7 separate regions of the Homo sapiens genome follow, and all the other regions are linked to region 6. The links are contacts of gene promoters, found by promoter capture Hi-C in blood cells and fetal thymus (Javierre and others, 2016). All regions are on one chromosome and are shown on one strand. Each heading gives the region's core, a stretch centred on a gene start or on the middle of the fragment in contact. The rest is flanking DNA. Distances are from core to core; before and after follow the strand shown.

Evidence for each region. Contacts are between HindIII fragments. The CHiCAGO score rates a contact against its expected background, and 5 or more counts as called.
Region 1: a fragment that was not itself captured here is called in contact with the fragment with the promoter of SPDYE4 in region 6 in 2 of 17 cell types (monocytes and neutrophils); the score reaches 6.5 in monocytes.
Region 2: a fragment that was not itself captured here is called in contact with the fragment with the promoter of SPDYE4 in region 6 in 1 of 17 cell types (naive CD8 T cells); the score reaches 5.5 in naive CD8 T cells.
Region 3: a contact is called between a fragment that was not itself captured here and the fragment with the promoter of SPDYE4 in region 6, in 16 of 17 cell types (megakaryocytes, endothelial precursors, activated CD4 T cells and 13 more). The highest score is 14.8, in megakaryocytes.
Region 4: a fragment that was not itself captured here is called in contact with the fragment with the promoter of SPDYE4 in region 6 in 1 of 17 cell types (naive CD4 T cells); the score reaches 5.3 in naive CD4 T cells.
Region 5: a contact is called between a fragment that was not itself captured here and the fragment with the promoter of SPDYE4 in region 6, in 2 of 17 cell types (total CD8 T cells and total CD4 T cells). The highest score is 7.0, in total CD8 T cells.
Region 7: a contact is called between the fragment with the promoter of ARHGEF15 here and the fragment with the promoter of SPDYE4 in region 6, in 13 of 17 cell types (neutrophils, naive B cells, naive CD8 T cells and 10 more). The highest score is 14.9, in neutrophils.

The regions. Positions count from the first base shown.
Region 1 is chr17:8,325,643-8,329,142 of GRCh38, forward strand. No RefSeq gene overlaps it. Among named protein-coding and RNA genes, the nearest start is that of ODF4, 12 kb to the right of the region's middle. The HindIII fragment of the contact is 1,610 bases long and covers 1,142-2,751 here.
Region 2 is chr17:8,371,981-8,375,548 of GRCh38, forward strand. All of the region lies in intron 1 of KRABD2 (KRAB domain containing 2), which reads right to left. Among named protein-coding and RNA genes, the nearest start is that of KRABD2, 2.9 kb to the right of the region's middle. The HindIII fragment of the contact is 3,400 bases long and covers 36-3,435 here.
Region 3 is chr17:8,393,059-8,396,475 of GRCh38, forward strand. It overlaps RNF222 (ring finger protein 222), which reads right to left. Exons shown (of 3, transcript NM_001146684.3): 2 at 1,120-1,271; 3 at 1-428. The coding sequence starts at 403. Among named protein-coding and RNA genes, the nearest start is that of RNF222, 3.1 kb to the right of the region's middle. The HindIII fragment of the contact is 1,225 bases long and covers 1,042-2,266 here.
Region 4 is chr17:8,348,308-8,351,633 of GRCh38, forward strand. No RefSeq gene overlaps it. Among named protein-coding and RNA genes, the nearest start is that of ODF4, 10 kb to the left of the region's middle. The HindIII fragment of the contact is 9,727 bases long and covers 1-3,326 here.
Region 5 is chr17:8,430,831-8,434,653 of GRCh38, forward strand. It overlaps a transcript of NDEL1 not described here. Among named protein-coding and RNA genes, the nearest start is that of NDEL1, 3.1 kb to the right of the region's middle. The HindIII fragment of the contact is 238 bases long and covers 2,044-2,281 here.
Region 6 is chr17:8,756,131-8,759,849 of GRCh38, forward strand. It overlaps SPDYE4 (speedy/RINGO cell cycle regulator family member E4), which reads right to left and starts at 2,416. Exons shown (of 7, transcript NM_001394956.1): 1 at 2,144-2,416; 2 at 1,132-1,362; 3 at 248-306. The coding sequence starts at 2,252. The HindIII fragment of the contact is 1,936 bases long and covers 941-2,876 here.
Region 7 is chr17:8,307,868-8,311,709 of GRCh38, forward strand. It overlaps ARHGEF15 (Rho guanine nucleotide exchange factor 15), which reads left to right and starts at 2,374. Exons shown (of 16, transcript NM_173728.4): 1 at 2,374-2,476. RefSeq lists an enhancer at 2,368-2,868. The HindIII fragment of the contact is 11,022 bases long and covers 1-3,842 here.

The sequences.
Region 1 (3,500 bases), core at 697-3,196, 430 kb before region 6:
AAAAATTAGCCGGGTGTCGTGGTGCCCGCCTGTAATCCCAGCCACTCGGGAGGCTGAGGCAGGAGGATCCTTTGAACCCAGGAGACAGTGGTTGCAGTGAGCCAAGATCGCGTGATTGCACTCCAGCCTGGGTGACAAGAGCGAGACTCTGTCTCAAAAAACAAAAAACAAACGAAAGACAAAGGGAGGACGGCTGCCAGGAAGACTCAGACCCAAGTAACCTTGGATATGAGCTCCATTAGGGCTTTGTTACAAGCAGGTTTTCAAAGGCAAAAAAGGGGGACAGGGAGTGGGCTGTGGGCTGATACAAAGTTGTTAGGAATTCTCATTGGTTTAAAGGAAGCTCTTTGATTAGTGATTGGCTATATACTGTTAAGCTATAGGGGGTGGGTTATAGTGTCCAGTGTGGCATTACCAGGTTAATTCATAGCTACTTATGGCAAGAGCAAGCCAATGCAAGCAGTTAAAGAGGTGAATACCTAGCTCAAAGGGGGTAATGGGATGTCACTGTTGTCTCATTTTAATTCCTCTCTGGCCCTGATTTTTTTTTTTTTTTTTGTCACAAGATTTGGCTTTGTCACCCAGGCGGGAGTGCAGTGGCACGATCTTGGCTCACTGCAGCCTCGAGCTCCTGGGCTCAAGCGATCCTCCTGCCTCAGCTTCCTGAGTAGCTGGGACCACAGGCAGGAGCCAACACACCCGACTAATTTCTGTATTTTTTGTAGAGACGGCGTTTTGCCATGTTGCCCAGGCTGGTCTGGAACTCCTGGGCTCAAGCGATCCTCTCTATGGGCCTGATAATTTTAAAAGCCTTGCCCCCCTCAGATAAAAAGTTTTTCTTTTCCTACAAGATAAGGCAGATAGTAAAGGGCACGGGCCTCTCTTTGAGCTGGCCTTCTGTGGGCTCCGGGTCAAGATCTTAGTGGCCAACATCGCAGATAAACGGGGGTGGGGGTTGCAATCATGCCCACAAGCAACAGAGGAAAGAGAGGAGCCTCGCCCTCTTCCCCCCACGCCCCGGCCCCCAAGCCTGCTCACTAGCTCTCTCCTCCTCCTTCCACCCGCAAGGAACCCTCCAGCCCACTTCCTGTGATCCTTTCCGGAGCCCTTCAGCCTGGCTGGCTCTCCAGCCATCTCGGAAAGCTTCTCTTTCCTAAACCCTCCATACTCGCAGGTTCAGCTACAGAGGTAACTGCAGGCTCAGGTTCTCCAGGGTGGCCAGCCCACCAGCCCACCGTCCCGGTGCAGCAGTGCCTCTCCAGCGACAGCTCCACCGCGAGCCTGGCGGGCTCCCGACCTTGCTCCCCAGCACGTCGTCTCCAAGCCACGGTCTCACCACCCTCCATCAGCCTCGGGCGACACCAAGGGGAACAGAGCGCTGGAGCTCCTCGAAGTCCTCCCGACCTTAGCGGGGCTCCGTTCATCCTCCCGGACGTGGCCAGGCCCCGCTCTGGCCCCGCGCCCGCCCCTCCCGCGGGGCTGCCCCTGTCTCTCTGCCGGAGACCCGGACTCAGTGAGTGAGCGCAGCGCGGCCATAGGGCTTCCTGCAGCGGGGTCTCAGCACGTCTTCTGGCTGGACTCTGGGGTCTCCTGGCCTGGCTGTGTCTCCTGGTTCTCAGCGCTCGCCTCCCACGCGGGGCGGAGTATGGGAGTGGGCTGCTCCCGCGGAAGAATCCTGGGGAAGTTGAGGCACTGGCTCCCGCTGTTCAGAACACTGCCCGACGTCCCCAGAGCTAGCCACTCCTCCTTCCCACCCACCCGCAGCACTCTCGAGGTCGCAACGGCAGTCACCAGGTCCCGGGGCCTGCGTTCAGCTGCTTGATCCGACTAGGTTTGGCTTCGGACCCGAATGGGTCAGCTCCACGCCCGATGGAGTTTTTCAAGCTGGTGCCTGCACGTGCCCCCGCCGCGGGGCATGAAGCCGTGGGCTGCGCCCAAACTGCCTCACAACCACCGCTGACCCGAAGCCTCTCTCACTCCGTCCACTGTTAGAAACCTGAAGCTGCCCTCTGTGAGAAAGCGTTGGGATTGAATCCAGACTTTTGGGGAACCTTAACAATAAAGAATACAAAATATTGACTAAAAATTGGATTTGAAAGTGACCCTGAGTTGTTGTTGTTGTTTTTGTTTTAGACGGAGTCTCACACTGTCACCCAGTCTAGAGTGCAGTGGCGTGACCTCGGCTCACCGCAACCTTCGCCTCCTGGGTTCAAGCGATTCTCCTGCCTCAGCCTCCCGAGTAGCTGGGACTACAGGCGTGCGCCACCACACTCGGCTAATTTTTTATATTTTTAGTAGAGACGGGGCTTCACCATATGGCCAGGCTGGTTTTGAACCCTTGACCTCATGATCTACCCCCATCGACCTCCCAAAGTGCTGGGATTACAGGGGAGGCACTGCGCCCAGCTACTCTTCCTTGATTTACGACAACCCTTGGTTATTGTGATTGGGTCGAGATGGGTATGTGTCCCAATTTGGATCAATGAGTTCAGAGACAGTTAATTCGAGACCCACCCAAGAGCCACTTGAATGAGCCATTCTCTCTTCCCCTGGACATTGCAGTGTGAGGATATAAGGTTTGGATCAGTGGCTGCCATTTTAGTGCAGTGAGAGGCAGCTTGGAGTTGCTGGGGAGGCCACTGGATACAGCCTGATGAAGGAGCCAACACCACAAAACTGGAAATGGAGAGACAAGGGGAAAGCCAGGTCCTTGTTATCATCACTTGAGTTCCAGGATCAAGTCTCATCTGAAGCTTTTATCTTGATTTTTCAGTTATTTTTGTTTGTTTGTTTGTTTGAGGCAGGATCTCGCACTGTTGCCCAGGCTGGAAGGAAGTGGCACGATCTCGGCCCACTGCAACCCTCTGCCTCCTAGGTTCAAGCTATTCTCATACTTCAGCCTCTCTAGTAGCTGGGACTACAGGCATGCGCCACCATGCCCAGCTAATTTTTTTTTTTTTTTTTTTTTTTTAGATGGAGTCACACTCTGTCACCCAGGCTGGAGTGCAATGGCATGATCTTGGCTCACTGCAACCTCTGCCTCCTGGGTTCAAGTGATTCTGTTGTCTCAGCCTCCTGAGTAGCTGGGATTGCAGGCGCCTGCGATCATGCCCCACTAATTTTTGTATTTTTAGTAGAAATGAAGTTTCACCATGTTGGCCAGGCTGGTCTCAAACTCCTGACCTCAGGCGATCTGCCCGCCTGGGCCTTACAAAGTGCTGGGATTACAGGCACGAGCCACTGAGACCAGCCTGGATTTTTCAGTTCTATAGGTCATTAAATTCCCTTTATCCCTTAAACCAGTTTGAATCTCCTTTCTTTTATTAGCTACAGAGTCCTAACTGATTCAGATAATCCACAATACAATTGTACTCTTAGCTATTCCAGAGAGGCCATTTATCTCACTGGCAGCTCTTCCTCTCCTGTGTGCCTTCCTGTTCAGACTCTGTGGATCACGCAATGAATTCCCAAATGGTAGGATGCAAATCTGAGGTGGGCAG
Region 2 (3,568 bases), core at 486-2,985, 380 kb before region 6:
GGGGAGTTCACATGAGGACTGCAGGAATTCCAGCAAGCTTAGGAAAACAGGATCCCGAGATCCCAGCTGTCAGATGCAGAGCGGAGGGGCAGGGCAGAATCCTGAGAAGCAGAGAAAGATGGAAACTTTTAAAGGCTCTGAGCAAGAGTCTCAGTTAAGTGGGGCCTGCTTCCAGGTCCGGAAGGTCCTTCACTAAAAGGGCTTCAAACTCCCTTCCTCAGCATTGCTAGTTAATCATGAATATTCCTGATTCTAAGACATTACTGATTGTAAATCACTAACTTAATAACAACTTTCTTTTGAGAGGAAAAACAGTGTGTATTAAATGAATGTATTGATAAGACACATCCAAAATTTAAAATGTGAAAAATATGCATTTTCATTCTTTTTCTTTTTTTGTATTTTTTTATAGAGATGGGGTTTTGCCATGTTGCAAAAAACCCAGGCCGGTCTCGAACTCCTGGGCTCTAGTGATCCACCTGCCTCAGCCTCCCAAAGTGAGGTTTTGCCATGCTGGCCAGGCTGGTCCTCGAACTTCTAGCCTCAAGTGATCTGCTCGTTTTGGCCTCCCAAAGTGTTGGAATTACAGGTGTGAGCCAGCACACCCAGCCGGTCCTACTAGTTCTAACAGACTTGAAACCACAAGGTATTCAATGGAATCCAGAAAAAGCACCTTCCAGATTCCTTTCTGAAACCAGCGTCTCTCAGAACCTGAGTGCTGTGTTGGTTGTTATTTGAGTCCCTTCAGGGGACCGCAAAGGAAGGAAAAGCCTCATCTTCATTCTATAAAATAATGAAGGCAACTGGGCATGGTGGCTCATGCCTGTAATCCTAACACTTTGGTAGGCCAAGGTGAGAGGATTGCTTGAGGCCAGGAGTTCAAGACCAACCTAGTCAACATAGTGAGACCCTGTCTCTAAAAATAAAAAAAAGAAAAAAAAGAATGAAGGCAACAGGCTAGAAACAATTTATAATCAAAAGATGTAGAATCTCAGTCTTTAGTAGAGGTACAGTCCTTACTATACCATGAAATTCTACAGTAGAGTCCAGGGTCTACAATTATCTAATAGACCTATTTTGGTTGGTCCATCTAGTGATTTTAAAAAAATTTGTCTCCCTCTTCCTCTCTCCATCTCCGTCTCCACGGTCTCCCTCTCCCTCTCTCCCTCTCTCCGTCTCCGTCTCCGTCTCCGTCTCCACGGTCTCCCTCTCCCTCTCTCTCCACGGTCTCCCTCTGATGCCAAGCCGAGGCTGGACTGTACTGCCGCCATCTCGGCTCACTGCAACCTCCCTGCCTGATTCTCCTGCCTCAGCCTGCCGAGTGCCTGGGATTGCCCACAGGCGCCGCCATGCCTGACTGGTTTTTGTATTTTTTGGTGGAGATGGGGTTTCGCCGTGTTGGCCGGGCTGGTCTCCAGCTCCTGACCGCGAGTGGTCTGCCTGCCTCGGCCTCCCGAGGTGCCGGGATTGCAGATGGAGTCTCGCTCACTCAGTGCTCAATGTTGCCCAGGCTGGAGTGCAGTGGCGTGATCTCGGCTCCCTACAACCTCCACCTCCCAGCTGCCTGCCTTGGCCTCCCAAAGTGCCGAGATTGTAGCCTCTGCCCGGCTGCCACCCCGTCTGGGAAGTGAGGAGCGTCTCTGCCTGGCCGCCCATCGTCTGGGATGTGAGGAGCCCCTGTGCCCGGCCGCCCAGTCTGGGAAGTGAGGAGCCTCTTCCCGGCCGCCATCCCGTCTGGGAAGTGAGGAGGGTCTCTGCCCAGCCGCCCATCGTCTGAGATGTGGGGAGCGCCTCTGCCCCGCCGCCCCGTCTGGGATGTGAGGATCGCCTCTGCCCGGCCGTGACCCCGTCTGGGAACTGAGGAGTGTCTCTGCCCGACCGCCACCCCGTCTGGGAGGTGAGGAGCGTCTCTGCCCAGCCGCCCCGTCTGAGAAGTGAGGAGCCCCTCCGCCCGGCAGCCGCCCCGTCTGGGAAGTGAGGAGCATCTCCACCCTGCAGCCGCCCCATCCAGGAGGTGGGGGGCAGCCCCTGCCTGGCCAGCCGCCCCGTCCGGGAGGGAGGTGGGGGGCAGCCCCCGCCCGGCCGGCCGCCCCGTCTGGGAAGTGAGGGGCCCCTCTGCCGGGCCGCCACCCCGTCTGGGAGGTGTACCCAACAGCTCATTGAGGACGGGCCATGGTGACGATGGCGGTTGTGTCGAATAGAAAAGGGGGAAATGTGGGGAAAAGAAAGAGAAATCAGATTGTTACTGTGTCTGTGTAGAAAGAAGTAGACATAGGAGACTCCATTTTGTTCTATACTAAGAAAAATTCTTCTGCCTTGGGATGCTATTAATCTATAACCTTACCCCCAACCCCGTGCTCTCTGAAACATGTGCTGTGTCCACTCAGGGTTAAATGGATTAAGGGCAGTGCAAGATGTGCTTTGTTAAACAGATGCTTGAAGGCAGCATGCTCGCTAAGAGTCATCACCACTCCCTAATCTCAAGTACCCAGGGACACAAACACTGCGGAAGGCCGCAGGGTCCTCTGCCTAGGAAAACCAGAGACCCTTGTTCACATGTTTATCTGCTGACCTTCCCTCCACTATTGTCCTATGACCGTGCCAAATCCCCCTCTCTGAGAAACACCCAAGAATGATCAATAAATACTAAAAAAAAAAAAAAAAAAAAAAAAATTGAATGATTCGGCCGGGCGTGGGGGCTCACACCTGTAACCCCAGCACTTTAGGAGGCGGAGGTGGGCGGATTACAAGGTCAGGAGATCGAGACCATCCTGGCTAACACGAGGAAACCCCGTCTCTACCAAAAATACAAAAAATTAGCTGGGCATGGTGGCGAGCGCCTGTAGTCCCAGGAGGCTGAGGCAGGAGGATGACATGAACCCGGGAGGTGGAGCTTGCAGTGAGCCGAGATCGTGCCTCCGCACTCCAGCCTGGGCGACAGAGCCAGACTCTGTCACAAAAAAAAAAAAAAAAAAAAAAAAAAATTCAATGTTTCACCTATATTTACAGATTGGGAGATTTCACATAAATCTCGATTTCTTTCTTTTTTGAGACAGAGTTTTGCTCTGTCATCCAGGCTGGAGTGCAGTGGCGCGATCCCGGCTCACTGCCAGCTCCGCCTCCCGGGTTCACGCCATTCTCCTGCCTCAGCCTCCCGAGTGGCCGGGACTACAGGCACCTGCCACCAGGCCCAGCTAATTTTTTGTATTTTTACTAGAGATGGGGTTTCACCGTGTTAGCCAGGATGGTCTCGATCTCCTGACCTCGTGATCCACCCGCCTCTGCCTCCCAAAGTGCTGGGATTACAGGCGTGAGCCACTGCACCCAGCCTCGATTTCTGGCTTTCTTGAAAAGGCAACATTCTGGCTGCACTGGCGGCATTGCTGCCTGGCAATAACTGGCTGTGATGGAGAGGCGGCATCTTCCTTTGGATCAAGCTTGTCCAACCTGTGGCCTGTGGGCTGCACGCAGCCCAGGACGTCGGGACCTACTAACCTATTCATCTTACTTGCCCACTCCTGCACATTTCTAAGCTTTCAATATCTTTTTTCTTTCATTTTTTTTTTTT
Region 3 (3,417 bases), core at 404-2,903, 360 kb before region 6:
GCTGGGCGCTCTGGCCCGGGCTGCCTGGCGGCCTGGCCTGGCCTGGAGGTGGCCTCCAGGCAGGGGAGGAGGCGGCCAGGGGGTTTGTGTGGCCCAGGCTGTCCAGTGGGGGCACGGAGGGCAGGCCCACGGGCACAGCCAGCGTCTGGGAGCTCTTGTCCAGCATGGAGGGCCAGCGGGAGCTCTTCTTGCTGAGGAATGTGACGTAGCGGCAGATGGGGCAGACCAGGGTCCTCTGGACCTGCCCATCCACGCGGGTGGACAGCAGGTACTTGACCAGGCAGTCATGGCAGAACACATGGCCACAGCTCAGCGTCCGGCTGGCGCCCTCCAGGTCCCGGAACTTCTCATAGCACACGGGGCACTCACTGCCCGAGCTGTCCTTGCTCTCCCCTTCTGACATGGCCACTGGGAGATGGCACGCTCAGCTGTGGACGGGAAGGGTTGTGAATATTGGGGCATTTCCTCTTTCCCTCCCCCGTCCTAACTCCCACCTACACCTCTGCCTCCACTGCCCCTTATCCCCTCTCCCTGTCTTCTGCCTCCTCTCTCTTCCTCCTACTCTTGGCTCTTCTGCTGCTCCTCCTCTATGGCCCACCTGACTCAAACCTAGAACCCAGACCCTTAGGAGGAGAGGAGCAGATGCTTCTGGAAGGGAGAATCGGGAGACAGAGAACCAGAGAACCCAGTCACACTGGACCCCAGGAGGAGGTGTGTGGAGTTCCTGATGTCTCACCTCAATCATCATGTACACACATGGTGAGGTCACTGCCTCACCTCTTCCTGCTTCAGTGACGGAAGTGAAGAAAGGAAGTCCCTGTTACCAGGGGAAGCAGGTGGCTAAGAAGATGCATGCACAGCCCCAGTCCAGTCTCCAATTTGGACCTGCACCCAGAGTGGCCATTTTCCAGAAAAGCCCGTGCTAGTCTCAACCTCTGCCCTCACCTGGGGTTGGCGGGTCCATTGGATTTCCTCCAGCCATTGGATTGCATTCCTCTGTGCTAAGTGTGGCTATAAAGCAATGACTGTTTAAAAAAACAAAGCTTAGAACTTACACATTCAAATGCCTGCTGGCCCTCCACATAGTCACGTCAGGGAGCTTTAGGTTCATTCCCTCACCTGCCACAGCTCAGTCATTCTCCAAATTCTTCTTATGGGGCTGCCTGAGGCAGTGAGAGAAGCATCTGATTAACCGTGATGGAGACAGAATTTCATCCTTTGAGAATATGTCTGATACTTTGGAAATGCCCAGAAGTCACTGGTAGCCAAGTCTGATAGGAAAGTAAATGAGTGATCAAGTGGCATGATATTGTTTGAAATCAAAGCTATGGAGTAGCAAGATATAAAGTAACAAGATATATAAAGTAACAAGATGGTTTGTTTTTTTTTTTTTTTTTGAGAGGGAGTTTTGCTCTGTCGCCCAGTCAGGAGTGCAGTGGCGCAACCTCAGCTCACTGCAACTTCCACCTCCTGGGTTCAAGAGATTCTCCTGTCTCAGCCTCCCAAATAGCTGGCATTACAGGTGCATGCCACCACCCATGGCTAATTTTTGTAATTTTAGTAGAGACAGAGTTTCACCATGTTGGCCAGGCTGGTCTTGAACTCCTGACCTCCGGTGATCCGCCCGCCTCGGCTGGCCTCCCAAAGTGCTGGGATTACAGACGCAAGCCAAGGCGCTGGCCACAAGATGGGTTTTAAACAGAATCTGAGAGCAGATTTGTTTGATTAACTACATGGCTTCCCAAGTCGATGGCTTTGAAGGGAAACATCCACTGGGGTGTGTGGTGAGGTCCAAGTGTCCGCACTGAAAAGTTCCCAGTGTCACAACTGTGTAGCCTAAACTTATCTGGAACAGCTTCTTTAAAAAGAACCATGATTCCTTGTTATTGCTGCTTTCTTCCATCCATGACAGAGACAAAAGACCCCTGGACACACTGATAAAATAGAGTTGCATGGCAGCCCCCAGACCTGAGAGATGACATAGTGGGAACAAAATCAATGTGTAGGAAGGACAACTGTTAAGATCACAAATCTTTCAGAATCCCTCCCTCTCTTGGCTTGGCTCCAAATCTATTTTGCCGAGTTGAAAATGTCCCATAGTCAAAGAGCAAAAATATTTGGAGGTGGGATAAGGAATCTGGGATCCTGGAGGAGGCCCCCAAACCTCTTTGGGAGTTTCTAGCTTTGGTCTTTGAGATGGTCAATGTGGCCCCCAGGATGGGGGATGGGGGTTCAAATCTTTGATCTACCCATTACTGTCTGTATAAGCTTAGCCAAGTTGTTTAACCTCTCTGAGTCTCAGTTTCCTGTCCATAAGATGAAATTGATAATAATGGTATCATCTTCCTCGGAGAGTTGTTGGGGGAATTAAGTGAGCTAATGTGAGTGAAGAGTCTGGCTCAGAGTAAGTGCTCAGTAAATGGCAGTTGTCATTATTAAGACAGACCATGTCCTGTCCCCTCTTCTCCCAAAGGGGACTTGGAGACCCCTGTCACAGCTCTTGAGGCAGCCACAGCATTTGCCTTCCTTTCCTTCCCTCTCATCCCCAAATGTTCCTTAGTATGTGGATGATTAAAAAATCGCACCCACTTGACAGAGGGCAGCTCACCTCAAATTAGAATAACGGAACAAGATGACAATGGATAAGATAAGTGATGGGCAATGGATAATAATTTAAATGGTTATTCCAATCTTTCTTGGTAGTTATTTCATAACACATTTGCAAATGTTTATACCAAACAGCCATTATAATCAGGATGGGCATGATTTTCTTAAGCCAATCAACTATTAATATGTTTCCCTGCATTTCATAACTCCCCAGAGTGTATGATGGCAAGAGTTCCATCCTTCTATCCATCCATCCATCTGTCTAATTATTCGACACATATTTATTGAGCACCTGCTATGTGCTAGGTACTGACTTACATATTGGGGATAAGTAGTGGCCAAGGAAGTTCTTATAAAACTTTAGAGCCTAGTGGACATTTATAAGTTTTCTTGAAAAAGATATTTTTTTGAAAGGAGTATTGATGATCAATGGTTTAAGTTGTTTGGATAACTGAGAAGTAGAGACCAAGGCTGACAAGAAGAGCAAATAAGGAATACTAGAGGGAAAAAGGACTTTAGAGATCACTTAGTTGAAGCTCCTAGTTTCAGAGATGAGCAGATCCATGTCTAGAGAGAGGGAAGTGAGTCACCTGAGGTGACCGGTGAAGGTGACGGAGAGGGAGTTAACCGAGACAGAGAAGATTCCGTAGATGGTAGAACATTGTTAGAATCAGCTGATAGATTGGGTGAGTAGGTATTAGCCAAGTTAGAAAGCACCGTCCTCCTTGAGACGAGCAGGGAAGGAGAAGGAGAGCCTCTACTTTTCATCCGAGTTAGAGGAAAAGTAAAAAGGACCCAGGGAGTGCAGAA
Region 4 (3,326 bases), core at 228-2,727, 410 kb before region 6:
CAGGTGATCGGCCCGCCTCAGCCTCCAAAGTGCTGGGATTACAGGTGTGAGCCACCACGCCCAGCTGACTTCTATTTAATATGAGCCCTGTCTGAGATTCTTGTTCTTACCACACCTGATCAGCAATTGTAGCATTCCTAACCCAGGAAAGATTCCTAACAAAGGAAAGATTCTGAGCAAGGAACATAATACAAGGGCTTGAAAATTAGGCACAACAGATATTCCACAAATCTCTACTCTGTATCCCACTTTAATCCTCTCCCCAGTAGCGAACAAGGATTTACTAGGGGACTTACTGAACTAGTCATCCTGGAGGAAGGGACACCAAATAAAGGAATGTCATGGTCTCTGCCTTAGGTACAAACACACGTATGTATAATGTAATTAGAGAAACTGACTTAGTGATTTTGTAGGGGTCACAAACTCAAATGCATACAGGGGCTAGGTGGGTAACATAAATAAAGGGGGCCACTCTCACAGTCTGTATATAATTTTTCCCTTTTGATAAAGATCTGGTGTATTAGCTATTTATTGCTGGATAACAAATTACCCCACATTTAGTGGCTTAAAATAATAAATATTTATTATCTCACATCATATCTGAAGGCCAGGAATGTAAAAGCAGCTTAGCTGAATAATTTGTCAAAATTATTTAAAAAATTTTAAAAAACTTTTAAAAATTATTTTATCATATACAACATGATGTTTTGAAATAGGTTTACATTGTGGAATGGCTGAGTTGAACTAATTAATGTATGCATTCCCTCACATACTATTTTTTGTGGTGAGAACACTTAAAACCTACTATCTCAACGTTTTTCAAAATGCAATACATTGTTATTGACTATAGTCACCATGTTGTACAATAGGTCTCTTGAACTCATTCCTCCTAATTAAAATCTTATAGTTTTTTTTTTTTTTTTTTTTTTTTTGAGATGGAGTCTCGCTGTCTCCCAGGCTGGAGTGCAGTGGCGCGATCTCGGCTCACTGCAACCTCACGCCATTCTCCTGCCTCAGCCTCCCGAGTAGCTGGGACTACAGGTGCCCACCACCACGCCTGGCTAATTTTTTTGTGTTTTTAGTAGAGACGGGGTTTCACCGTGTTCACCAGGATAGTCTCGATCTCCTGACCTCATGATCCACCTGCCTCGGCCTCCCAAAGTGCTGGGATTACAGGTGTGAGCCACCGCGTCCGGCATTTTTTTTTTTTTTTTGAGACCGAGTTTCACTTTCATTGCCCAGGCTGGAGTGCAATGGTGAGATCTTAGGTCACTGCAATCTCTGCCTCCTGGGTTCAAGCGATTCTCCTGCCTCAGCCTCCCGAGTAGCTGGGATTACAGGTGTGTGCCTCCATGCCCGGCTGATTTTTTGTATTTTTAGTAGAGACGGGGTTTCACCATCTTGGTCAGGCTGGTCTTGAACCTCTGACCTCAGGTGATCCACCCACCTCAGCCTCCCAAAGTGTTGGGATTACAGGCATGAGCCACCACACCCGGCAATCTTATAGTCTTTGACCAATATCTCCTCAGTCACATCCTCCCCCAGCCCCTGGCAAACACCATAATACTCTTTGCTTCTATGTGTTTGACTAAATTAGATTCTACATGTAAGTGAGATCATGCAGTATTTGTCTTTCTGTGCCTGGTTTATTTCACTTAACATAATGCCATCCAGGTTCATCCATCTTGTTGTAAATGACAGGATTTCCTTCTTCTTCTTTTTTTTTTTTTCTGTTGAGACGGAGTTTCTCTCTTGTCGCCCAGGCTGGAGTGCGATGGTGTGATCTTGGCTCACTGCAACCTCGACCTCATGGGTTCCAGCAATTTTTCTGCTTCAGCCTCCCAAGTAGCTGGGACTGCAAGTGCCCACTGCCATGCTTGGCTAATTTTTGTATTTTTAGTAGAGACAGGGTTTCACAATGTTGGCCAGGTTGGTCTTGAACTCCCGACCTCAAGTGATCCACCCGCCTTGGCCTCCCAAAGTGCTGAGATTACAAGCATGAGCCACCACGCCTGGCCTGTGGACATATTTTATTACCATTACATTTTGGTATAAAAAATATCTTACAATAGGAGGGCATAATTAGAAATGGCAACTGGAATTTCATTTTAATTTTGGGAGACAAGTGGGATTGGGATATCCCGGAAAACTGCCTTATGTAACAGGGGAAGGTGCAACTCAGCTCCATGGGTTATTGCTGTGAGGAACATTTGTCATATGGAGCTGCTCAGCATTCATATGGTTTTCCTATTTGGGGAGAATGTCAACATAAGTGGGAAGTGGAGTCGCTTCCAATTATAGAAGGTGCAGGAGGGGAAGACACACCTGGGACCGCTCTCAGGCAGTCAGAGTGCCAACGTATGACTAAGATTATTCACCTGCGGCAGGGCACGGTGGCTCATGCCTGTAATCCCAACACTTTGGGAGGCCGAGGTGGGCGGATCACTTGAGGTTGGAAGTTCGAGACCAGCCTGACCAACATGGAGAAACCCTGTCTCTACTAAAAATACAAAATTAGCCGGGCGTGGTCATGCATGCCTGTAATCCCAGCTACTCGGGAGGCTGAGGCAGGAGAATCACTTGAATCTGGGAGGGGGAGGTTGCAGTGAGCCAAGATTGTGCCGTTGCACTCCAGCCTGGGCAACAAGAGCAAAACTCCATCTCAAAAAAAAAAAGATTGTTCACCTGCGACTTTGTATCCTTTTCATTAAGTGCAAAGAATTAAGGGAATATTGGAATCACTGTAGTCCATGCAGGATCCTGCATCCTGCAGCAGAGGTGACAGGGCCATTGTCTAGGGGGGACAGCACAGGGTTTTTCTCCCAGAAAACTCATGTGGCATGACTAGGGTTGTAGCTCTGGCTGCTTAGCCTCCCTTGGTTCTTACTCCTCTAAGCCTGTTCTTCAGCTTTCTGTAAGTTATTTCATATCCTTCCTTTTCTGCTTAAGTTAACCAGGGTTGATTTCTGTTGTATACAACCAAAAACCTTAAATAGAATATTTGCTAGAGCTTCTGATTTTTTCAAAAGATGCCGCCAATCCAGATGTTTTTATAAATTCTGATCTTTAAATTTTATTACTATAATTTTTTTTTAGAGAGAGACTCTTGCCCTGTCACCCAGGCTGGAGTGCAGTGGCATGATCATGGCTCATTGCAGCCTCAAACTCCTTGGCTTAAGCAATCCTCCTGCCTCAGCCTCCTGAGTAGCTAGGACTACAGGGATGTGCCACCATGCCCGGCTAATTTTTATTTACAAAACGTTTTTTGGGCCAGGTGCGGTGGCCCATGGCTGTAATCCCAGCATTTTGGGAGGCCGAGGCGGGTG
Region 5 (3,823 bases), core at 913-3,412, 330 kb before region 6:
TGGTATATTGGAAGCAGGGGCTGGGGCAAAGGTTGCTGATGGTTAATTGCCATGCCCAGCCCCTGGGCCCATCTCCCAGGGAGAAAGCTCAACCACAAGGGGGAAGGAATTACATCAGTTTGGGCCCTTCGGCACCTCTTAGAATCCTGCCAGGCAAAGCCCGTTCATTAAGATAAGGCCAATAGTCCAGTCCTGACAAACACCAGTTTTGGGTCCAGGCCGCGTGGGAGGGGTGGCAGCTTGGAAGATGATGCCAACATTTTCCGAGGGGCCTGGCCTGCCATTAGATGACTCAGTGCGTTTCCCAGCACCTCAGCCAGGAGGCAGGGAGAGAGCCGCAGCCCTTATTAATTTTTTTCCTCTTGGGATAGGACTGTTTTGTCTTGGCACCAGGTCCACAGGAAAGCCTTCATTCATCCCCTCCCTGTCTGTGATCTCATCAGCCAGAGCACAGCTTCACCCAGGGAAGCAGAGCCCCAGAGCCTGAACGAGCTGTACCAGTCCATTGTCCCAGGCCACTGGCCTTGAAGTAAGACCTACTTGAGTTTAAGCCCTAGCTCCTCTGGGTCTCAGTTTACAATATGTACAATGGAAGCAATAATCACAGCCTCACAGGCTCATTGTGAGGACTGAGGGAGGGAAAGCATGTAAAGCACTTAGCACAGTGCTCTAGCCCAATACATGGTAGTAATTGCTAATACTCCCCCTTCTTGAGTAGCAATATAATAGTTGTTAATAGTGTGTTTTCTGGAGAGTTAGACAATTCGAACAGGGTGGGTTTGAGGCTTGAGGCCTCATCTTTCTAGTTGAGAGACTTTGGGAAACTTCATCTTGCTGAGTCTGTTTCCTCATTTAAAAAATGGGAATAACACTACCTATCTCATGGGATTACTGTGAGGATGAAATTAAGCAGACCAAGTGTTTAGCACAGTTGCCAGTGCATACAAGAGAACTTCGGAAAGTTCATAGAAAAATGGAATTAAAAGATAAAATTAAAAGATATAAACTTTATTTCTCAACGTAAGCTCCCTCAAGGTCAAGACACCTTTTTTTTTTTTTTTGAAACAGGCTTGCTCTGTCACCCAGTGGCATGATCTTGGCTCACTGCAACTTCCACCTCCCAGGTTCAAGCGGTTCTCAAGCTTCACCCACCTGAGTAGCTGGGATTACAGGCACATGCCATCACATTCAGCTAATTTTTCTATATTTTTAGTAGAGACGGGGTTTCACCATGTTGGCCAGGCTAGTCTTGGACTCCTGGCCTCAAGTGATCTACCCGCCCCAGGTCTCCCAAAGTGCTGAGATTACAGGTGTGAGCCACTGTGCCCAGCCAAGGTCAGGATACTTTCGTAACCATGATATCAGCCATTTATTTAGTACATCCCTAAAGAATTGAGGATCTGGGGATTTTAAGCATGTTAATGCAGTCTTTTTTACATTATTAACTGAAGAAAAATGGCTACCCTTTAAAGAGATATATATATATATTTATATATAAATATATATATTATATATAAATATAAATATAAATATATATATATTTAATGGCAGGCCAATATATATATATTTTTTGAGACAGAGTCTCGCTCTGTTGCCCAGGCTGGAGTGTAGTGGCGCGATCTCGGCTCACTGCAAGCTCCGCCTCCCGGGTTCATGCCATTCTCCTGCCTCAGCCTCCCAAGTAGCTGGGACTACAGGCGTCCACCACTACACCCAGCTAATTTTTTGGATTTTTAGTAGAGACGGGTTTTCACCGTGTTAGCCAGGATGGTCTCGATCTCCTGACCTCGTGATCCGCCTGCCTCGGCTTCCCAAAGTGCTGGGATTACAGGCATGAGCCACTGCGCCTGGCCTAAAGATTTTTTAAGATTAGGAAACAAAAAGTCTTCAGAGGGAGCCAAATTGGGACTGTAAGGTGATGTCTACTGATTTTCCACTGAAACTCTTGCAAAATTGCCCTTGTTTGATGAGAGAAATGAGCAGGAACTTTATCATGGTGGAAAGGTCTCTCTGATGAAGGTTTCCTGGGCATTTTTCCACTAAAGCTTTGGCTAATCTTCTCAAAACACTCTCGTAATAAGTACGTTATTATTCTTTAGCCCTCCAGAAAGCAAAATGCCTAGAACAACCCACAAAATGGTTGCCATGATTTTTGCTCTTGACTGGTTCACTTTGCTTTGACTGGACTACTTCCATCTCTTGGTAGCCACCGCTTTGTCTTCAGGATTGTACTGGTAAAGCGAAGTTTCATTCTTGGTTACAATTCTTCAAAAAAAAAAAAAGCTTCAGGATCTTGATCCCACTTGTTTAAAATGTGTGAAATTTTGAAAGCTCTGTTCTTGTCAGCAGCTGACCTGGGCACAATGGTTTTGCCACCCATTGGGTGGAAAGTTAGCTCAACTTTAATTTTTCAGTAAGGATTGTGTAGGCCAAATCTGTTGAGATATCTGTGGTGCTGGCTATTGTTTCTGCTGTTAATCATTGATCCTTTTCAATTAGCACATGAACAAGATTACTTTTTTTCCTCACAAATTGATGTGGAGGGTCTGCTGCTGTGGGCTTCATCTTCAACATCATCATGTTTCTTCTTAAAATGAATTATCCATTTGTAAACTGCTGACTTCTTTTGGGGCTTTGTCCTTTTACACTTTTATAAAGCGTCAATGATTCCACCATTTTTCCACCCAGGCTTCACCATAAATTTAGTATTTTGTATTGCTTCAATTTTGTAGAATATGTGTTCTGATAGGGACTCTCTTCAAACTGATTTCTTATCTTTCTTGGTGCTTCAAGCTAGATCCTGTTCAGACATGTTATAGCAAGTTAGAACAAATTTATTTTGGTGCAAACATTTATTTTATTTTTTTAGAGACAGGTGTCTCACTGTGCTGCCCAGGCTGGTCTCGAACTTCTGGGCTCAAGTGATCTGTCTACCTCAGCTTCCCAGAGTGCTGGGATTACAGGTATGGGCCACCATGCTTGGCCCTGTGCAAAAAAAAAATTGGAAATCCATGCATAGTTTTTTCATAATATGCATATTATTCATAATATTATTCATAATAGGCATATGTAATATGTTACCTTTCCCACAAACCCCATTAATCCCTTCTCTGATCTTTATTGATTTGGGTACCTCTTACAATCCATCTTGCATTGTTCCTGTTTATGTCCATCGCCCTCAAAAATATAAACTGGGCCTCCTAGGCTCACTTTGTTTTCACCTTGAGGCATGTCTTACACATTATTTTTGTGTTCACACCCACAAATCCAATCCTAAAAGCACTGAAATTGGAAAGGATTACATTGCGTGCCGCATGGAGGCTGGTGCCTGTAATCCCAGGACTTTGTGGGGGGCTGAGGTGGGAAGATTGCCTGAAGTCAGGAGTTCTTTTTTGTTTTGTTTTGTTTGTTTTTAGACGGAGTCTCACTCTGTCGCCCAGGTTAGAGTGCAGTGGTGCTCACTGCAACCTCCGCCTCCCGGGTTCGAGCGATTCTCCTGCCTCAGCCTCCGGAGTAGCTAGGATTACAGGTGCCCACCATCATGCCTGGCTAATTTTTGTACTTTTAGTAGAGACAGGGTTTCACCATGTTGGCCAGGCTGGTCTCGAAGTCCTGGCCTCAGGTGATTTGCCCGCCTCGGCTTCCCAAAGTGCTGCAGCGCCTGGCCGAAGTCAGGAGTTCTTGACCAGCCTGGGCAACACAGTAGACCCCATCTCCTAAAGGAAAGGATTACCTTGTACATTATACAGCAAAAGTTCTTAAAATTGTTTTTAAAATGTATCTCTTCCTTTAAGTTTCCACTCCCTATGTAAGTTGCCTATCC
Region 6 (3,719 bases), core at 1,166-3,665:
ATCACTTGAGCCCAGGAGGCTGAGGCTGCAGTGAGCTATGATGGCAACACTGCATTCCAGCCTGGGCAACAGAACGAGACCCTGTTTCTGAAAAAATAAAAATCAAAATGTGGGCGCCCAAGAGTATGGAATCAGCAGGTGGGAGATGGTAGAGGGAGAGAGGAGAGAAACTGTGGGTTTAGACGCTGCACCCTTCCCCAGGACGTGTGTTAAAGCAGGAACACAGTTGAGTGGAGAACAACCTTACCTTGTCTGACACCCTCAGGTCTTTGTCCCAGGCCAGGAATTTTTGAACGACAGGATCCCCTGTGAAAAGAGAGCCTGTGTCAGGGTGAGAAGTGGAACAGGGTTGCCGTGGGAGCAGCAGAGCAGAGAGGAGAACTGTGTCCCTCTGGGGGAAGTCTCAGGATTGTGGCCAAGGCTTAGGTGGATGGGAGAGGAGAGAAGGACTTTCACTGGGCAAGGAGGGAGGCTCCCGCTCTGAGATTCCCCTGAGGAGAGGCCGAAGGAGGCCTCTGGTGTCAGAGTCTACAGGATGAAGAGCTGTGAATAAGCCATGATGTCCTCCCATCAGACAGGAAGGGACCACTGCAGAAGTCATAATAGAATTCCCATCATTGCTTCCTGAGATAGTCACAGCTGGGTGTGCCCATGGCCTTGTTATCCCCCTCCACGGATGGAGACACTTAGGTTTAGAAAAGTCATCAAGAGACATAGAGTTTCAGAGGGTACAGCTGAAACCAAGCTTTCTTTTATCTTTTATTTTATTTTATTTTATTTATTTTATGACAGGGTCTTTCCTTGTCAACCAGGCTGGAGTGCAGTGGTGCAATCATAGCTCATTGCAACTTCAAACTCCTGAGTTCAAGAGATCCTCCCGCCTCAGCCTCCCAAAGCACCAAGATCTCAGGCATGAGCCACTGCACCTGGCCAGAAACCAAGCTTTCTTATTTCAAGTGCAGACCTTTATTAAGACTAGCCTAATCCTCTATCTCCTAAGCATCCTCCTCCTGCATGGAGCGCTCATCCCCCAGGAGGGCATATTCTTCTTATTGGGAAAGTGTGATTATTGAAAGATTCCACTTTTTTAAAAGAACAGGGTTGGAGGTGCTTTTTGGGGTATCCTCCTACCAAGGAGCCTGTTGAAGGCCTCGTGGTGCTCAGGGAGCACGGAGGATGCTCGCTTTCGCTTCAGCTTCATCTTGAGCCCACACAGCGTCTCCACCACCCAGGTGTCCTCGGGCTCAGGGGCGCGCTCCAACTCCAGCTCCTCCTCCAGCTCCTCCTCGGATTCGTCTGACCATTCGCTCTTCCTTTTCAGGCCAAGGGATTGAGGCTGGGGGCTGGGATCTATCCAAGGGGCTGAGTGAAGAAACCAGGCCATGGTGTCATGTTTCTGCCATTGATCACCTTAGACGCCCCGACCCAGGAACCTCAAACTACTCTTCCATCCTCCCAAGCCTCGCAGACTGTCAGCTTCTCCAAGCCATGTTTCCACCTTTCTCCTTTGCTGATCCCCATCTGCCTCTCCCTCACCTCCCCATTCTTCCGGCTCTCTGTCCTCAAAACATTTCCTCATCACAGATAAGAACTTTCAATTGGAGAAAAATGGAAACCTTCCCTTGAGCTCTGTCTGCTCTCTCTCTCTCTCTCTCTTTTTTTTTTTTTTGAGATGGAGTCTCCCTCTTGTTGCCCAGACCGGAGTGCAGTGGCACAATCTTGGTTCACTGCAACCTCCGCCTCCTGGGTTCAAATGATTCTCCTGCCTCAGCCTCTTGAGTAGCTGGGACTACAGGCACGCACCACCATGCCCAACTCACTTTTGTATTTTTGGTAGAGACAGGGTTTCATCGTGTTAACCAGGATGGTCTCGATCTTCTGACCTCGTGATCCGTCCGCCTCGGCCTTCCTCTCTCATCTTTTGAGCACATCTCCTGACCCCCTTCATTGCTCCCCAGACTTTCTTTACACGTGGCCATGCTTGGCCCCATTCCCTGCACCCTCCTTCCCCGATCCCTGGCTTCCTGAGTCCGTCGTTTCTTTCCCACACACCCTACTCAGGTGCTTCAGATTCCCAGTAACTGGCCCCCTTCCCTCTCCTCAGTCAATCATCTCCCATCGCTTCTCCCTCCAGTCACCTCACCTGATGGTCCTGGCACTTCATCATCCACCACCACCTCGGGGGACCGTACCGTTGTGCTAGGCTGGGGGCTCTCCTCCTCAAACGGGGGGCGCGCTTGACCACTGGCCATAATCTCTCCCAAACACTTTGTTTCTGTCCACAAAACCTAGTCCCTGTTCTGTCCAAAGCCTTCTTCCAGACTCCGTTAGGACCCAGAAGAGTGCGTTTCTCTTCTAGAGGCTCGGGAGAAGTTAGGAGTGAAGAGTAGTTCTGAGAAGTTGCTGTTGTCCACCTGAACTCCCAAGCAACCAGAGTCCGGTCCTTCCAATCAGGAAAGTCGGAATCTCTGATGTCATCGGTCATTCCAAACTGGCAACTACTTTGAAGAAAAACACATGTAACTGCCAGACTGATCTCTTTTCTTGGAGATCCGGGGTGAACGGTATCTCCTGGCAATGTCCCAACCTCTGAGCATTGTCCAAAAGCATCCTCAGGGTCTCCACATTCCTCTTTTCCCTGTCCCAGCAGAGGCTGTGTCCTCTCCACTCTAAACTTGAGGGGGTGTTGGGCTCTCCTCCCCGCTTCTCCTTCCCATTTCAGAGTCTAGTCTGGTGAGAGAGGGAGGAAGGTGGAAGGAAATTTAGGGTAAGCAGAATGATGAGTCCTTCCAAGAGTGAGATTAACATATACAGGAGATCCTGGGTAAATTGACTTGTTGAATGGAGACGTTACGTCGAAGTACTCAATGTGGCAAAGCTTTTTTGCTGAATGTTTACTGATATTCACTATCCTGGATCCTATAGTAGGGGAACATGCATCCTTTGCTCTCAGGCATCTTTGAGTCCAAGAGACATTTTGAGGAATGAAAATCACAGGAGACTGTCCATGGTTTCGTACAGATTTTCAATGGTGTCCACAAGTTCAGGGCATCCATGGATCACCTAAAGCCTGCCCTCCAGTTCAGCTAAGGAACTCTGGTCTATATATCAACTATTACAACATATCTATTTCACTTGACCCCAAAATTTGCCTACTATTTATGTATTTTATGAATAAAATATCCTGTGTATAAAAAGACTAAGGGGAAAATCTCAGCCAGGCCCAGGGGCTCCTGCTCATAATCTCCCTCCTTTGGGAGGCCAAGGCAGGGCGTCACTTGAGGTTAGGAGTTCAAGATTAGTCTGGGCAACATAGCAAAACGTCATCTCTACAAAATATAAACAAAGTAATCAGGAATCGTGGCACACACCTGTGGTCCCAGTACTTGGGAGGCTGAGGCAGGAGGATTGCTTCAGCCCAAGTGTTTGAGGCTGCAGTGAGCTATGATTGCACCACTGCACACCAGCCTGGAGGACAGAGTGAGACTCAGTCTCAAAAATATTTTTTTCGGAAAAAATAAAAATGTAAGAGCTGGATACTATCTCAGATACCATCCAAAGAACCTGTGAGTTCTGGCACAGCTTCCTAATGGGCTCCTAGGAGTCTCTCGCTGATGGGAAAGGCACAACTGAATGAGGAGGCAGATCCCGTCGCTGTGGAAGTCCAATTGTTAGGAAACTCTGCTTACATTGAGTGGACCTTCGCATTCACGATGCTT
Region 7 (3,842 bases), core at 1,124-3,623, 450 kb before region 6:
TCAATTAAAGCCTCATCTTCAGGCCCAGTAGAAGATGCCAATCAAAATAACTGTATTGCCGAGACACACGGCCACAAATTAAAGCTGTTAAACTCCTCAAGGCCCAGGGACTATTGCAGAAGAGGTGGGCATGTGAGATGGTAAGGGTTGATTTTGAGAAATAAAATAAATTCAGTTTCTCTATAAATTAACCATTAATGTCAAAGACACACTGATGCAAGACCAGCATATGGGCCCCTGTGTCAGATTCACAAGGTTTTCTTGGAGCATTAACTGACTCCTTAATAAAGGTTATAAAGGTTATACAAAGGTTATGGAAGTTACATCTTATGGTCAAGATTAAAATGTTATAGACTATTTATAAAATTTTTGGGGCCAGGTGTGGTGGCTCACGCCTGTAATCCCAGCACTTTGGGAGGCCGAGTCGGGCATATCACGAGGTCAGGAGTTCGAGACCAGCCTGGCCAACATGGGGAAACCCTGCCTCTACTAAAAAATACAAAAAATTAGCCGGGCATGGTGGCAGATGCCTGTAATCCCAGCTATTCGGGAGACTGAGGTAGAAGAATCACTTGAACCTAGGAGGCGGAGGTTGCAGTGAGCAGAGATCGCACCACTGCACTCCAGCCTAGGCAACAGAGCAAGACTCCGTCTCAAAAAAAAAATTTTTTTTTGGAAAAAATTTAATTGGCTTCATGCTGTTTTTATTGGGGCTTATTGTTTGGAAAATTAAGTCTCTTCTGGGATTACAGGGGAGTGCCACCATGCCTGGCTAATTTTTTTTTTTTTTTTGAGATGGAGTTTCACTCTTGTTGCCCAGGCTGGAGTGCAATGGCACGATCTCAGCTCACTGCAACCTCCGCCTCCTGGGCTCAAGTGATTCTTGTGCCTCAGACTCCTGAGTAGCTGGGATTACAGGCGAGTGCCACCATGCCCGGCTAATTTTTTTTTTTTTTTTGAGATGGAGTTTCACTCTTGTTGCCCAGGCTGGAGTGCAATGGCACGATCTCAGCTCACTGCAACTGCCACCTCCTGGGTTCAAGTGATTCTCTCTCCTCAGCCTCCAGAGCAGCTGGGATTACAGGTGCCCGCCACCATGCCCAGCTAATTTTTGTATTTTTTTTTTTTAGTAGAGATGGGGTTTCACCATGTTGGCCAGGCTGGTCTCAAACTTCTGGCCTCAGATGATCCACCCTCCTTGGCCTCCCAATCTGCTAGGATTATAGGCGTGAGCCACGGCTCCTGGGACATTTTTTATTTTTATTTTTTTTGAGATGGAGTCTTGCTCTGTTGCCTAGGCTGGAGTGCAGTGGCAGGATCTTGGCTCATTGCAACCTCCACCTCCTGGGTTCAAGTGATTCTCCTGCTTCACCCTCCCGAGTAGGTGGTAGTACAGGCGTGCGCCACCACACCCGGCTAATTTTTTTGTATTTTTAGTAGAGACAGGGTTTCACCATGTTGGCCAGGCTGGTCTCAAACTCCTGACCTCAGGTGATCCTCCTGCCTCGGCCTCCCAAAGTGCTGGGATTACAGGCATGAGCCACTGCGCCCGACCTCTGCACATTTTTTATTGTTTTCAGACAGCATATTGCTCTGTTGCCCAGGCTGGAGGGCAGTGGTGCGATCACGGCTCACTGTAGTGTCCAACTCCTGGGCTCAAGTAATCTTCCCACCTCAGCCTCCTGAGTAGCTGGGACCACAGATGTGTGCCATTATGGCTTTTTTTTTTCTTTTGAGATGGAATTTCGCTCTTGTTGGCCAAGCTGAAGTGCAATGGCGCGATCTCGGCTCACTGCAACCTCTGCCTCCTGGGTTCAAGCAATTCTCCTGCCTCAGCCTCCCGACTAGCTGGGATTACAGGCGTGTGCCACCATGCTTGGCTAATTTTTTGTATTTTTAATAGAAACGGGGTTTCACTATGTTAGTCAGGCTGGTCTCGAACTCCTGACCTCAGGTGATCCGCCTGCCTCGGCCCCCCTAAGTGCTGGGATTACAGATGTGAGCCACCTCGCCCGGCCTGTCCACGGCTAATTTTTTAAAAATCTTTTGTAGAGACAGGGTCACACTATGTTGCCGAGGCTGGTCCTCCCACCTTGCCCTCCCAAAGTGCTGGAGTGCTGGGATTATAAGGATGAGCAACCACGCCTGGGCCCCTGCAAATGTTATACCTCCCTGGAGGAGACAGACCCCAAGTCCACACTTCTCTCTTCAGTCCTACCTCCTGGCCCTCCCCTTTTCTCTCTCCTCTAACACACACACACACACACACACACACACACACACACACACACACGCCAGACACAATGGCTGGGTGGGGCTGAGGAACTGGCTTCCTCCGCAGAGATCTCAATCTGGGCCCTGAGTTCCCACCCCAGAATCACAGGAACACACACTTGGAAACCTCAGCCCTGCATTCCTCGCTCCAAGGGGCAGACAGGACAGGCTGAAAATAGCAACTGGTTCCAAAAAGATAAAGGTAAATTCATGGGGACCTACTGCAGAGTTAGGGAGGGAAGCCTGCGGGAGGGTCCCTGGGTGTGAAATAGGCGTTGGCTCACACCCGGCTCAGGAGACAGGTGGTGGTGCAAGTCGGGGAAAGATGGTGAGACTCGCCGTGGAGGGACGCACGCAGCATCCCTTAGCTGAGACAGAGGCATCCAGACACCCATGCTGCTCAGCCAGGCTCTGTGCCATTGCCGTCTTGTCCTCATCCCTACCCCTGTCCACCTCACCCCTATGAGCCCCGATCCACACAGCTGTGCAGGTAGAACCTGCGCACACACTTTCCAAGCCTGAATTTCAGCTTTTCCCCAGACCCCTTTAACCTCTGAGACCCTGGATACCTCTGTCTCCTGGGGCCCTGTGTGATGTGCGCATGTGGAGAGTGGTGTGGTTCGTGAGGGGGGGGTGTCCGGTTGGGAGGCGGATCTGATTCCTGTTTCCTGCCCCTACTCACTCAGCCCTGGGAGGTGACTGAGAGTGGAGGGGATTCAAGGGTGAGTGCTTGGGGCCCGAGTACCTGGGTTCCTAAGGGTGGGGTAGGGAAGGAAGTAAATGCAGGTACCCGAGAGGGGGTGGGATCCCTGAGGGGCAGGGGCTGGGGAGGAGTTGGCCAGTGGTCAAGACTACCGTGTGGGTCACTTTGCTAAATGACTTTCTGCCAGAACACAGAGGCCACTGAGCTGCAAGACCCATCATCTACAACCCCCTTGTTCCCCCCTCATCATTTCTCAAGGAGCCAGTCCGAGGCCTGGAGGGGTCTGACTCTCCTGCTGACCCCTGAAGGGAGTTTGGGGGTTCCTCTGCTTCCCAGCCCTGACCCTGCAGCCTTCTTGGGATTGTAGCCTCCTTCCTCGAGGGAGGAAGAGAAACCCAGGCCGCAGCGCCCTGGCCCGACTGGTCCTGTCCTTCGGTTCATTCTCCCAGCCACCTCCCCAGGCCTCTTGGCAAGACCCATGGCTGTGCTGGGCCTCTCTCTGTGACCAGACCCTAGGGCAGGCGGGGATGATCAGACGCAGGACAGGAGAGACCTCGCCAGGACCTCCTCATCTCCGGGGGTCAGAGGCTCCAAGAATCTTGATGGCAGGAAAAGGAGACTAAAAATAATCCGGAAAGGGAGAGTCCGGAGAGAGGAACTGGGAAATGGGGGGCGGAGGGCCAGTGGAGCAGGGAAACAGTGATGCACGCCTCGCAGCCCAGGCCCGGCGGACAGGCGCGCCCACGGCACCCAGACCCAGACAGCGCAGAACACACATGGCACACCCACCCTGGCACCGCTATCTCAGACACTCACACCGAGAACTTCCTAAAGGGCCACACACCACACACCGTATGCTCCACTC